Regions from separate parts of the Homo sapiens genome. Here region 2 is linked to region 1. The links are contacts of gene promoters, found by promoter capture Hi-C in blood cells and fetal thymus (Javierre and others, 2016). All regions are on one chromosome and are shown on one strand. The core of a region is centred on a gene start or on the middle of the fragment in contact, and the rest is flanking DNA. Distances in the headings are between cores, read along the strand shown.

Region 1 (7,021 bases), core at 3,087-5,586:
TCACAATAGCAAAGACATGGAATCAATCAACCTAAATGCCCCTCATCAATAGATTGGATTTTTTTTAAATGTAGTACACATACACTGTGGAATACTATGCAGCCATAAAAAATGAGATCATGTCCTTTGCAGCAACATGGATGAAGCTGAAAGCCATTATCCTAAGCAAAGTAATGCAAGAACAGAAAACCAAACACGGCGTGTTCTCACTTATAAGTGGGAGCTGAGCATTGAGTACACATAGACACAAAGAAGGGAACAACATATACCAGGGCCATACATGAGTGTGGAGGGTGGGTGGAGGGAAAGGATTGAAAATCTCCTGTTGGGTACTATGCTCATTACATGAGTGACAAAATAATCTGTAAACCAAACCCCCACAACACATAATTTACCTATGTAACAAACCTGCCCATGTACCCCTGAACCTCGAGGTTAAAAAACAACAACAAAATGTAACTATTCATCTCAATTAAAACAGAGTAGAGGCAATCGTTCTAGGTCTGCTCTGGGAAAGACATTTATGCTAACTCTCAAGGCACAAACTTGAGTAGGTGAAGATGAAAGTGTCCCTCCGGGGTCTGTGCCGTCCTGGGAGAGACACAGTGAAGTGCTCTGTGAGGTAACAGGAATATGTGCAGAGTGCATCGGGGACATAGGCTCTTCCCTCTGTTTGGAATGCTGTGTCCTCTCTTGACTACATGGCAGCTTGGAGTCTTATTCCTCAAGACTCACAAAATGTCCTTATCTTTGCTACCACCACATCAACTCAAGCAAAGCTAATCATCTATACTGCTCCTTCCACTGCAATTATTTTGTTTAGTTCATGGCATTGCCAACAAGTGGTTTTCCAGAACAAGAACCACATCCCCAGTCTAAGCCTTGTAGGCAGTACTCAAACACATTTACTGTGTGAAATAATGATTGAAGAGTTGAACACGTGAATATGAGATTCCTTTTTTGCTGGGTGGGTGAAGAATGTGATTTCCAGAGAAGTGGGACCTGATTCTTGAAGAGATGTGGAGTTTGCCTCATTAATTAGTATCAGGACATTTTCCTGGTTTTCCTGAGAAACACAACTCTACATTTTTCTGGGTCTGTATGATCTCCCTTTAGAGCAGGGTTTCTCAGCTTCGGCACTATCAACATCTTAGCAGCCTTAATTCTTTGTGGGGAGCTGTCCTGTGCATTGTAGGATGTTTATCAGCATTGATAGCGTCTGCCTACTATATGTCAGTAGCACATTTTCCCCAGGTTGTGACAAGAAAAGTGGCTCCAGACATTGCCCAATATCCCCTAGGGCAGAGTCACCCTGGGTTGAAAACCACTGCTTTATACTCAACAAATGTTAGCTCTTGTTAGGCATGAAAAAGACCTTGCTGTAAAGTCAACCAGCCATAGAAAAATTATGGAATTGATTTTACCATTTTTGAGAAACTGCTGTGGGCCAGTCAGGCTATACTGGGTGCTTTATACAGATTCTATTTCATCCTCAAGTATTATAATCCTCATTTTGTAGATGAGGATGTAGGATCAGAGTGCCTAGGCAATGTGCCCACGTGGCAGAATCGGGTGTACTTCCTGGCCCTGCATGCTATGGCAGGTTGTTAGGCGTTTAATGCGCGCCTCCCACATTGCTTCTACTCTCTTTGCAAATATACAGTTCTATCTGCGTGCATGAGTTGGGGCGTGCAAATAGGCTGAAGTCTGAAGGGAAATCAGATGTGTGGAACATGTCCAGATATAAAAATAAATACTCTGATAAATATGGACCTGGAAAAAAAAAGCGATCACGAGTCTAACTTAATCATGAAAGCATAAATATTAAGCCAAAGGAATTTTCTTCACCAGGTGTCCTTTCAGTACCTAAACTGACATATTAGAAATATTTAGTCCAAATGACTGTTTTCACTAGATTTTTCATCAGAATAACTTCCACAGTTATATTAGATCAGCTGGTATTTTAAAAGCACTGTTCTTTATCCTCCACTATAAAGGCACAGTATTAAAAACACATAATAATAAATACCTCTTTAAAATGTTGAACAGTAATCAGCAAATCTGTTTGCAGTGGAACAGAATCCAGCTGCACTCTTTCCCTGTTTCTCTCAGAAAAGAGTAACTTCAGCAACAAGGAGTCTGCCCTTTCTGGGTGAAGGGGTCATACTAATATTTAACAAGAACCTCTCCCGCCTGCTTTTCACTTCGTGCCATTTCTTTAGATATTCTAATGACAAAAGGTTTTAGACTTGCGAGTGCTAATGCAAGGAAACATCAGTCGAATCTAGGTTTTTGTTTTTGAGGAAAAACTGTTATTTCAGCAGCTACTGCTACACGTAAGAGGTCCTGATGCAAATCCTTTTCCAAGCACCCTGCATTGTTGTTGTCAAGGTCCATATTTATCAAATCAAGTAAAAACCCATGAAAAGTGGCAACCGAGGGAGGAGGCAGCAAGATAAATCAACTTTCTAAAAAAAAAATTCCCCTTTTTAAATAGAATTTTATTCCGGTTTTGGTGTTCAGAGATGTTTTGTTCACAATAAGAGCCATTGCTCCATATTAGGTAACATCTTTTCCCCCTTGCAGCTTCAAATGAATATCAAGAGCCAGGTTCACAAGTTGGATTCCCTTTAAAGACACGTTTGATTGCAAAGCTTTGTTGACTCTGTTTGATATCCTCCGCGAACTGCATGACTGAGCTAAGCTGAAGTTCCTGGTCACCAGCATGGGGAACGGGTAGCTGCTTCAGCGCCTGCTGGCAGAGAGGTCGTTCTCCGAGTCTGCTTTGCCACCTAGTGGTTTGATGTGGTATTGCCATTCACCAGGTAGTTTTAAAAGTCATTTTAGCCGTTGAATGCTATAGTGAATTATGACAGAAAACAGAGACACTCTAAGCAAAGAAGGCAGTCAGAGACCCAAAACAAGCCCTGAAAAATGACGCAGACTGGATTACAAATAGGGAAGAGGCACTAAATAGTTGGTCTGAGAAAAAACGCACGGCTGTATGTTGCAAAGATATTTTGGGTTTTTCCCATATCATCACTTAAAAAAATAATTATTATTATAGACGTAGAATTAATTTAGACTTCTAGAAAAATTTATACGCTTTTAATTGGTTCAGCAGGTTTAAAAATCGAGAGCCCTCAAACATTTTTCCCAAGTAGGTACTGCCCGGTTGGCTCAGAGGACATGAAATGAGTTTATCTCCTTGGAATTCATTATAACCAGAAGCCTCACATGTATATTGGCCTTGTCCGTTTCTGTAAGCAATCTCACATGTATTTCACACTGGATATTTACACATTTTTAAATTTTTTAAATTTACCTATATATTTCACAGACTTATAACCCCAGAAAAGTTATTTTTTGCCATAACTAGGGGGAAGAAGGCAAATTTCCTAGAACTAACCTTCAATTTCTCCTAAATTCAGTACTGTCAAACTTTTTTGTCTTTTTTCACATTTTTTGTTTCACCCTCTTCTTTTAAATATTAATAAAAGATGTCAAAATATCCACTGCAGTGGCTTTCCAACATTATTCAACACAAAATACATTGTACGTACATCATGACTATAGACATAATTTTATACGTGTGTGTATGTCGAGCAAAAATTTAATGAAGTGATATTGATTGTCATTATGTGGTATGCATTCTGATACGTCCTATTCAATTTGCTGTACATTTTTTTCTTTTTTAATTCTCATATTGGCCCACTAATTGGCTCTTGCATTTTGAACTCAGTGTGTGTGTGTGTGTGTGTGTGTGTGTGTGTATATACACACACGCATATATATCTATTGAATTTAGTGTGTGTGTATATATACATAAATACATATATACATATATAAACACATATACATATACACACATATACATATATACACACATATCTATACACATGTATGTATATGATATGTATATACATACGTATATATGTGTGTATATATACTCACACACATGTATATATACACACATACCAAGTTCAAAATGCAACAGCCAATTAGCGGACCAATTAGTGTGTGTGTGTAGTGTGTGTGTATATATATAGTAAGTTCAACATGCAATGTATATATACACTAAGTATATGTACATTGTATATAAGTAAGTATACTAAGTACATAGTATATATACACGATATAAGTACACTAAGTATATCGTATATATATACTAAGTATATATACATACACACAGATGTAACTTCCCCACAAAGGCACTGATGGTACCCACGTGCAGGATCTTGCGCAGTTTTCCACTTCTTGCCTGAGCTCTGGTGCCTGGAACACTTCAGTAACCATTCCCTGAATGTTGCACCCACAACCTGGCAGGGAGGGAGCCTGCTCTGACCCCAGAGAGGAGCCAGGCACCTGCCCCTGGTCTGCCCCTATCTGACCATGCCCTGAGCCCTCATGCAGGCTGCATTCCTAGAACTCTTGCCTGGGATTACTTATAAAGTGCGAAGGTCACTGGGCTGACAAGGATCTCTGTTCCCACCACCTGTTTATTCCTGAGCATTACAAGGAAAGACTTCCTGTAGGTCCCCTCACCAATATCATTCAATTCAATGAGTGTAGACTGTGAACTTCCTTGACTCAAAATATCCTAATGCTATGGAATAGCTGTTGAGTCAGGATGAGGAAGGAATATTAAACATAGGAATGATACCTTCTACTCAGAAAATCACCGTAAACTGAGGGCTCTTAGCCCGGGGTTATCACTGCTTCATTTGGGTCTGACCTACAGTCTTGATTCTCAGGAAGTTACATATTACCTATGAAATAATAGATATACCTGAAGTAAAACATTTGGTGACTCTCATTTCTAATAAGTACTTTTAGATATTCTTTTTTTTTTTTTTTTTTGAAATCCTTATGACCGGCTGATCACTTTCTCCTGTTGTCATCCTGGGTACCGATAGGACCTCCGTTGCTGAGCCTCCAGAGAACAGTCCTTTTAATGAGGCCGTGGCCCCAAGGCCTCGGAGAAGTTCATAGAAAATGTCTGAAAGAAGGTGGGAGGGATCTTGTTTCCTGGCCCTATAGGGACATTGTCTTCCTTGATAAAGCTGGGTACAGCCTTGATATGAATAGATTGGGGAGCACCAGGAATGTACCTCACCTGGGCTGTCGAGAAAAGACAGTGTGCTCAGAAGAGGTATGGCAGGTGCTGAATATTCCCTTGGAGGGACGAAGGCAAGAAAGGCCCCTACAGCAATGAGGGGAGAAAATCCACAACCCAAGTAGAACTAGGATTTCTTATGTGTGAGACAATACATTGCTCATTTACATGTAAAGTGTGTATAATATTTTTAATCCATCGTATTCAGGCGAGCAAGATCAGTCATTTCATTTTTGTATAACTTGCCTCGAAGCTGCCTGTTGTGGCCCCATTCTGCATAGCAAATCACCACAAACTTAGCAGCTTACAACAAGGTTCCCTGTTCAGGGTCTCAACACTGAAATCAAGGTGTTCGCCCAGCTGAGTTTACGTCTTAGGCAAGACTAAGGAAGAATTCATTACCACAGGCATTCAGGTCATCGGTGCTTCTGCCATGGTGACCTAGTGACCTCTGAGCAGCTGCCACCTCTGGGCACCAGACAGGAGGGCATGAGGCACGCATCTTCTTTGAGTCTGATCAATATTATCAGATGCGACCTCTTTTTCCTCCAACCTTCTCCGCATTTAAAAGCAACAGCAGAGTGTAAGGCAAGATTCCAAGCCCTCCTTGGCAACCATCACCAATATCTGCCCCCTTTTAACTCTCTTCTTCACTTCCTTCTGGCTTCGGAAACTTTGGGATTTTTTTTTTTTTCCTCATTCGGGACATTACAGATTGAGCTGAAGTCTTCTTTGTCCATCACCCTCAATCCTAATTTTATCTTCCTCCTCCAAAATACCACTGCTAATATATGATTTGCATGTAAATCTTTCTATCCTTCTATGACAATTTTAATTATATTAATATACTAAAGGTGGTATCTGTCTATATGTCTGTATACAACCTTTAGTATACAGGCATGTACAATCTTTAGTATACTATTGCTGTGTTTTATTGTAAACTAAATTTTATCGTGTTGTATTTGTCATCCCACAACTTGCCTTTCTTACTTAACAAAGTATTTTTAGATGGTTCTAAGTTAATATATATCTAGTTGATTGCTTTTATCTGCTGCATAGTATTCCCTTTTATGAATGACCTCATTTTTGAATTCATTTCAAAACGAATGGTCTTATAGATTTTCCTCATTTTTGTCATAAAAATAAATGCTTCAGTTAATAGCCTTGGGCGTGTCTCCTTGTGTACATACGAATGCAATAATTTCTAGAGGGTAGATACCTAGCAGTTGGATTGCTAGTTCATGGTGTACATGCCTTTTCAGTTTTAATTAATACTTCCAAATCACCTTTTTGTAGTACTTATTATCAATTTATTCACTCTGGATGTGGCAAGGGGAGATTTTTCTTATTTTCCTAGTGTGTAGGTCAGTATACCATGCATTGATGCTCAGAAGACCAAGTGTTTGCAGTTTCAAAGCCCTTATCTTTAAATCCCTTCTCTCTACCAGAGTATTTAAAATCTACTTTAAAAAGCAAAAAATGAGGAAACACTGGTTTCTTTCTCCCTGTGTTTCTAAAGTAACAACACAACCCTGAGAACACAAAAAGTTAGCATTGGGAGAAGGGAGGCAAGATCCCCGTTAATACTTCAGAGTATTAGCCTACAACACCACAATGCTTCTTATCTTCTCCATAATCTACAGATCAGGCGATAGTATTCTAGTTTTATAGATGAAGAAAGGTCGTCTCAAAATAGTCAAGTAATTTGGTAAGTTTATACATCTCCTGGGCCAACCCAGAACTCAGACCCAAATCAGCAAAACTCCAAAGAAAGACCACAGCTTTTCAACTCTGCTCTATTGCTTTCTAATAAAAAAAATTAATGACGATGAGAACATCATCTTTATTAATAGAGTGGTATTAATGTATCTCATCACATCAGAACCCCAAATGAGTACCCACGAC
Region 2 (6,747 bases), core at 3,141-5,640, 340 kb before region 1:
TAGAAGAAAGCAAATGCGTGTTCGTTAAATGGAGTTGAATTGAATTGAATGATGCTTCTACGTATTTATTTTTGGGGACATTAGTTACAAGCTTAGAATAAATAAATAAAATTTTTTTAAAAATTTTAAATAGTAACTGGATCTTGGACTTTAATTTCATTCTTTCATTCATGCATGGGGCTAAGAGACCCTCCAGGGCTCTGCTGAGAAGTGTAAAAGCCTACTTAAGTAGGCCAGAGAGCTATCTTCTTTTGCTCTGAATCTGTTTGCCTGTGAAGTTGATCAAGGCAACGTGATTGCATTGCTCCTGACACCTCTACTTCTGTGCTCAGCTGGCTGCTGAATAAAACTAATCTTTACATCTGAGTTCTCTGTCAGTGTGATTCAAACCTCCTTTAAAACTGTCTTCTTTGCCTTGCCATGACTACTATGTGGCTCTGAGGTTTTCTACTTCAACTATGGCAATAAATATTTTAATGGTCTCTCTGACCATCATTACTCCCTTCTGGTAATCATTCCCCTTGGCATTGGAGACTACTCTAACACACCTCTGAGTATTTTATTCTCTGTGTAAATGTCTCTCCCTTTGCCTCAAGATTAAAATCCAGACACTTATTTTATTTTATAAGTTTCAGGGTACATGTGCAGGATGTGCAGGTTTGTGTTACATGGGTAAATGCGTGGCATGGTGCTTTGCTGCACCTGTCAACCAATCACCTAGGTATTAATCCTGGCATGCATTAGCACTTTTCTCTATTGTTCTCCCCCACCGCTCCACCGTCCCCCAACAGGACCCAGTGTGTGTTGTTCCCCTCCCTGTGTCCACGTGTTCTCATTGTTCAGCTCCCACTTATAAGTGAGAACACATGGTGTTTGGTTTTCTGTTCCTGAATTAGTTTGCTGAGGATAATGGCTTCCAGCTTCATCATGTCCCTGCAAAGGACATGATTTGTTGTTTGTTAGGGCTGCATAGTATTCCATGGTGCATATGTACCACATTTTCTTTATCCAGTCTATCATTGATGAGTACTTGGGTTGATTCCATGTCTTTGCTATTGTGAATAGTGCTGCAAAGAACCTACATGTGCATGTATCTTTATAATAGAATGATTTATATTGCTTTGGGTTATATACCCACTGATGGGATTGCTGAGTCAAATGATATTTCCAGTTCTTAATCTCTGAGGAATCACCAGATGTCTTCCACAATGGTTTAACTACTTTACACTCCTACCAACAGTGCAAAAGCATTCCTATTTCTCTGCAACCTCACAAGCATCTCTTGTTTCTTGACTTTTTAATAATTGTCATTCTGACTGGCATAGAATGGTATCTCATTGTGGTTTTGATTTGCATTTCTCTAATGATCAGTGATGTGTTTTTTTCATATGGTTGTTGGCTGCATGTATGTCTTCTTTTGAGAAGTGTCTGTTCATGTCCTTTGTCCACTTTTTAATGGGATTGCTTTTTGTAAGTTTGCTTAAGTTCCTTGTAGATTCTGGATATTAGACTTTTGTCAGATGGATAGATTGCAAAAAGTCCAGACACATTCTGAATGGGAATAAAAAAACTTTCCAATGTCTGATTTCAAGAAATTCTCCAAACTCATATCCAGCGACACTCTTGTATTCACCTAACATACACCTTGTGTTTAAAATTGAATCTCGCATTTCAGCTTAACCTTGACCATATAGAACACATTTTCCCTAATTGCTTACTTTCATTCAAGAATATTTAATTGAATGCCAACAACTGACAGCCGGAACTTGGGCAGCATCCTCCACAGTCAAACGTTCTAAGCTCTTTTGTGTGACTGGGCTGGCCCATGTTCTCTTTTCCTAGAATGCCTTTCCCTCTCTACCTGGAAACTGTCTACTCATCCTTTAATATACAGGTCAAAAGTTTTTGCCTTATGTAAGAATTATGAGTCACCTGAGTCAACTTCTTGCTTTATTTACTAAGTATTTAGCAAATAAAACTGAAATCATCTACTTTATGTTTATTCTCCTTTCCCTAACTGGTCTCTGAGCTCCTCTTGCATATGTATTGCTGATTTTCCTTTGTTACCCTAGATAGAAGCTTTCACAGGAAGGGCACCTGGAGGATACTCCATAAATATGGACTAAGTGAATTTTTGTGCCCAAAAACATCTAGGGTATCTGCCAGTCCTTTTCCACCAATATGCACTTCCTTAACCACTGACATAAGCTTTTGCTAGACTTGTAATAAGTATAACACAAATGTTTTGCACAACAGCCATCTCTTATCACTTTCCCTTTCACTTCCTTTCTGTAAGTCTATGAGTCTTATAAACTGTGAAAAGGTCATACTAGCAAAGCAGGCTGTCTCTATTATTCACAGTCTATAGGAGCTATTGGTAACCAGTTGATGCTGTGAGCCTGAGTCAGGATCATATTTCTTGGGTTCATCAGTTTATTTGTCCAATCTGAGAATCTCTACAGTGTACTTCCTAAAAGTATGTTCTGACATGCCCTTGAGTACTTAAATCCTTGTGTTTAAAATTGAATCTCTCATTTCAGCTTAACCTTGACCATATAAAACACATTTTCCCTAATTGCTTCATTTCAGTCAAGAATATTTAATCGAATGCCAACAACTGACAGTTCAACCACTACATCAAACTTTAAACCCAAATTCGGAGGGGCTAATTTTTAAAATATCAAATATGCCTCATAAGATTTCAGGGAAAGTTAGGACGAATTTCAAGAGAGAGCCTGATGATGGCTTTAACCTCAAAACTAAGACATTATTGTTAGTTGCGAGAAGCTGGCCAATATTTCTTGTACCTGAATTGATTAAATTGTTACATGTTATTAGATGATGGTGACAACCTACAACTTGTTAAGGATACATAGTGCGTTAATTGTATAACTCCACATCTACATAACACTATACCACTGGAGTTATGGAATTAATGCCCTGTCCAGGATCTTACCCTTCTTGTTATCGCAGGACCCAATTCTTGCACAATTGATCATTTCCAAGGTGTTATCAAAATTAACCTTTAAGGTGAAACAATACATTGTATGGCTATTGTCCATTTATTTTGGCATTGACCGCAGTAGATGTCACATTGCAATTTTTCAAATAAAATTCAGAGTGATAGATGGACTAACTACATACCACTTATTCATAATAAAATATACAAATGATGAAGTATGGCATTTTGTGTGCAAAATTATCTGGGGCAAAAAATATATGTGTGTAAAACACAGGAAAAAGTATTGAGAAATTTGTGTTTGATAAGTATTTTTAAATACCACTATTTAGGCAAATTAATTAGAAAATATATCAATACTTTCAGATTCTCAGTAACTTTACAATAATGTTAGGAAATTAAGTGAAATATTGTTAAAGTATTTTTGCTACATCTTTCTTTAGTGTCTTCAGCTGTTTTATTGCAACTCATACGCTGATGTTTTTTAATGATATTTCTTTTTATGGTCATTAATTTTTCCATATGTTGTAATCTTAAAAATACAAAAAATGCAAAAACAATACAAAACACCTATAATCTCACCACTGAAAAACTCCAAAGTAATTCTTACAAATATTTTTATACTTTAGACTTAGGTAATTTATATATTTGCACAAATGTGTGATCACATTCCTCATACCTCTTCATAGTATAACAATACATTCCCATTTTTACATTTCTCTAAGTATTATTCTAAAATATACTTCCAAGGATACGTAACATTGTATCGTATGAATGTACCAAAATTTATTTATCCCATATTTAGTTTCTTTTCATTCATTCTGTATTGCAACTTTAAATATATATGTGTGTATATATATATATGTGTGTGTGTATATATATATCCTGGCATGTAAATCTTTGACTGTGTCTGGGTCCATTTTCCCCATATGTCAGCTCCATCCGTGACCCCTAAAATTCAGGTTCCACACAACAAGGATGACATCTTTACTTGAATGCCTAACAAGTGGCTCTAAATTAACATGTCCAAAACAGAACTCTAGGTTTTCCCACACCTCCCCCAAACTTGTTTCTCCCCCATCTGTCTCATCTCCCTTTCCCAGGCTTCACTCCTTCCCCAGATCTAGGCAAAAGCATAGGTGTTATTTTCCTCCTTTCTTCATTCCCCACATTCAGTTCCTTAGTCGGTTTTATTGAATCAGTCTCAGAACACATCCCACATCTGCCTCCTTCTTTGTGACTCTGCAGGCACCATCTGGTTCATCTCAACTTGCCTGGACCAGTGTAGGTAGTAACCTTTCACCTGTTTTCCGCAGGACCACTCTTGTGCTGTCCTTAATCAGTTATCTGCAGAGTCATGATGTGATTGTCCAAGACAAGAAATTCAGTTAATGTCACATGACATTAACGTAACATAACACTCCTTTGCTTAAAATCCTACAGGGGCTTTCAAAATACCTTAATAAAATCTATACTCTCATTTGTGGCTTGCGGAGCCCTGTATGGCCATTGCCCAGAAGTTCCCCTTCATCTCGTCTCACCTTCCTCTTTCACTACATATGTAATCTACCAGACTACCTTCTCCTGGTCCTCGTGGGCTGAGATGCTATTTTCTCAGATTATGGTTGCCTCCTGTTTTTTATTCAAGATTCACTGGAAGTTCCATCTCCTCTTAGCAGCTTCCTGCCTATTGACTATGAAATGAGCACCCTCATCGTTCTTAAACAGAGCTTTACATTTTCTTCTCTTCATAAAGAATATTATATATTAAGAATAGATAATAGTAATAGTATCTATTAATAGATACTATCAATATCTATAACAGATAATCAAAAGATTGTTAATATTAATACCATCTATTAATAGATAATATTACTGATAATTAATAATTGTTTATCATATATTTCCTCATTAGCATGTAAACTCTATGAAAAGTAGAGAAAATACCTGGACTCTTGTTCACTTTCTTCTCAGAACCTAGAAATGTCCTTATCACATAGTAGACACTAAATATTTACTAAATGAAAAAATATATCCTTGAAGATTTACTAGTATAAATGGTGTAAACAGAATTTCTTGGTGAAGAAAAATTTTTAGGTTTTTGCCTTATAATTTACCATCTCCATCCTTCCAAGATACCAATTTTCTTTCCCGTCGTCCATTGTACGGGAGGGCCAAGGTTGCTGCACCTGCTGGCCAACCTTGCATACGTAAATTTTGTTTTGACGGTTCAGGATACAATGTTTGACAATTGTTTTAATTGTCATGTTGGCATCTACTAATGAGGCTAAAACATTTTGAAATTTAAGACATCTTTCTCGACAGCAACCACAATCATTTCTGATCAGTCCGTGCAGGCCATGTGTACCTGATGACTTCTGAAACAAAGGGGAAGGGGAAGGGAGGCATGTGTTAGAGACAATACCCAGTTATCTGTGTTTACACTTCAGTATTCGCACATTTCAAGTCACGTGATCCCTCATAACAACTTTACAAAATGGATAAGAGATATCCCCCTTTTTTCAGATAAAGAGCTGGCTTCTGAAAGGTTATGCATCGTGGAGCTAATAAGTTATAGAACTGAAATCTAAACTCGTGGCTGGTGGATGCCAAAGCCCAAACTGTTAACACTTCACCATAAAAATAAAAGGATTGTCTCTATCATTTCTATCATTCAAACTTCCTGAGACTTAATGGTAAAGTTTTCATGTATTTCCTGGATAGTAGTGTTCTATTTAGATGATGATGATGATGATTATTATTATTATTATTTTTAAAGCGTTGGGTCAGGCTTGGTGGCTCACGCCCATAATCCCAGCGCTTTGGGAGGCTAAGGCAGGTAGATCATGAGGTCAGGAGTTCAACACCAGCCTTGTCAACATAGTGAAACCCCATCTCTACTAAAAATACAAAAATTAGCTGGGCGTGGTGGCTGACGCCAGTAATCCCAGCTACTGGGGAGGCTGAGGCAGGAGAATCACTTGAAACTGGAAGGTGGAGGTTACAGTGAGCCGAGGTCGCGCCACTGCACTCCAGCCTGGGCAAAAGAGTGAAACTCTGTCTCCAAAAAAAAAAAAAAAAAAAAGGTGTTATTCATTTTAGACAGGACTTATGTTTTTCACCATGTAAAGAAAAATGTTACAGGTAGCGAAATGGAATAAACTGAAATTCATCACGTATATAGGCAAAGAAACAGTACACTGCTGTTGGAAGTTTCAACAAACCTTTTATTTATGCCATTAATATAATCATTATTATAATTCACACAGATGGGATTTATATTATCCTCTAGAAATGTTTACAGCTTCAGAGGTTTCACTGCCTTCTCAAGAAGAACAATGTTTTCTTTATTCTGAAGTTGGTGTAGGGCAACAAGGAAAGAGACCAAGAGATACATCCAGGTGCACATTTTTTTCTCTTAGTTTATATAATCAAAATTTGTTTGTTTCTAAGAATAAGGAGATCATCACAGAAATGGTTTACCCCAAGTCAGGAAGACAAGGTCAGCTCAGAGTGGGCATAAAATTGCTTAAAGCATCTCAGATAGCTAATGTAATAGTGATTTATCAGAATGTCCCTAAAATGACCAATATTTGGGGACAGTAAGAATGGCTAAAGCTTAAAAAAAATGTAAAAGAGGCTTGAGTTACCTTTCTACTGGTTCTCCAAATATATGATATTTTCATTGTTGCTATTTTTAAATCTAAAAGATTTTTCAATAATCATGAAGAATTCCAAATAGGTTCACAGAATCTAGATTTTTTTTGTTTGTACTACAGCAGCGATTT

The links. The method cuts DNA at HindIII sites, captures the fragments that hold promoters and counts their contacts. A CHiCAGO score of 5 or more calls a contact.
Region 2: a fragment that was not itself captured here is called in contact with the fragment with the promoter of CHRM3-AS1 in region 1 in 2 of 17 cell types (M1 macrophages and M0 macrophages); the score reaches 6.9 in M1 macrophages.

Annotation. Positions count from the first base shown.
Region 1 is chr1:239,895,536-239,902,556 of GRCh38, forward strand. It overlaps CHRM3-AS1 (CHRM3 antisense RNA 1), which reads right to left and starts at 4,337. Exons shown (of 2, transcript NR_046582.1): 1 at 4,229-4,337; 2 at 2,484-2,857. All of the region lies in intron 6 of CHRM3 (cholinergic receptor muscarinic 3), which reads left to right. The HindIII fragment of the contact is 7,774 bases long and covers 2,653-7,021 here.
Region 2 is chr1:239,556,865-239,563,611 of GRCh38, forward strand. The region is part of intron 3 of CHRM3 (cholinergic receptor muscarinic 3); the gene reads left to right. Among named protein-coding and RNA genes, the nearest start is that of CHRM3-AS2, 160 kb to the right of the region's middle. The HindIII fragment of the contact is 4,369 bases long and covers 2,207-6,575 here.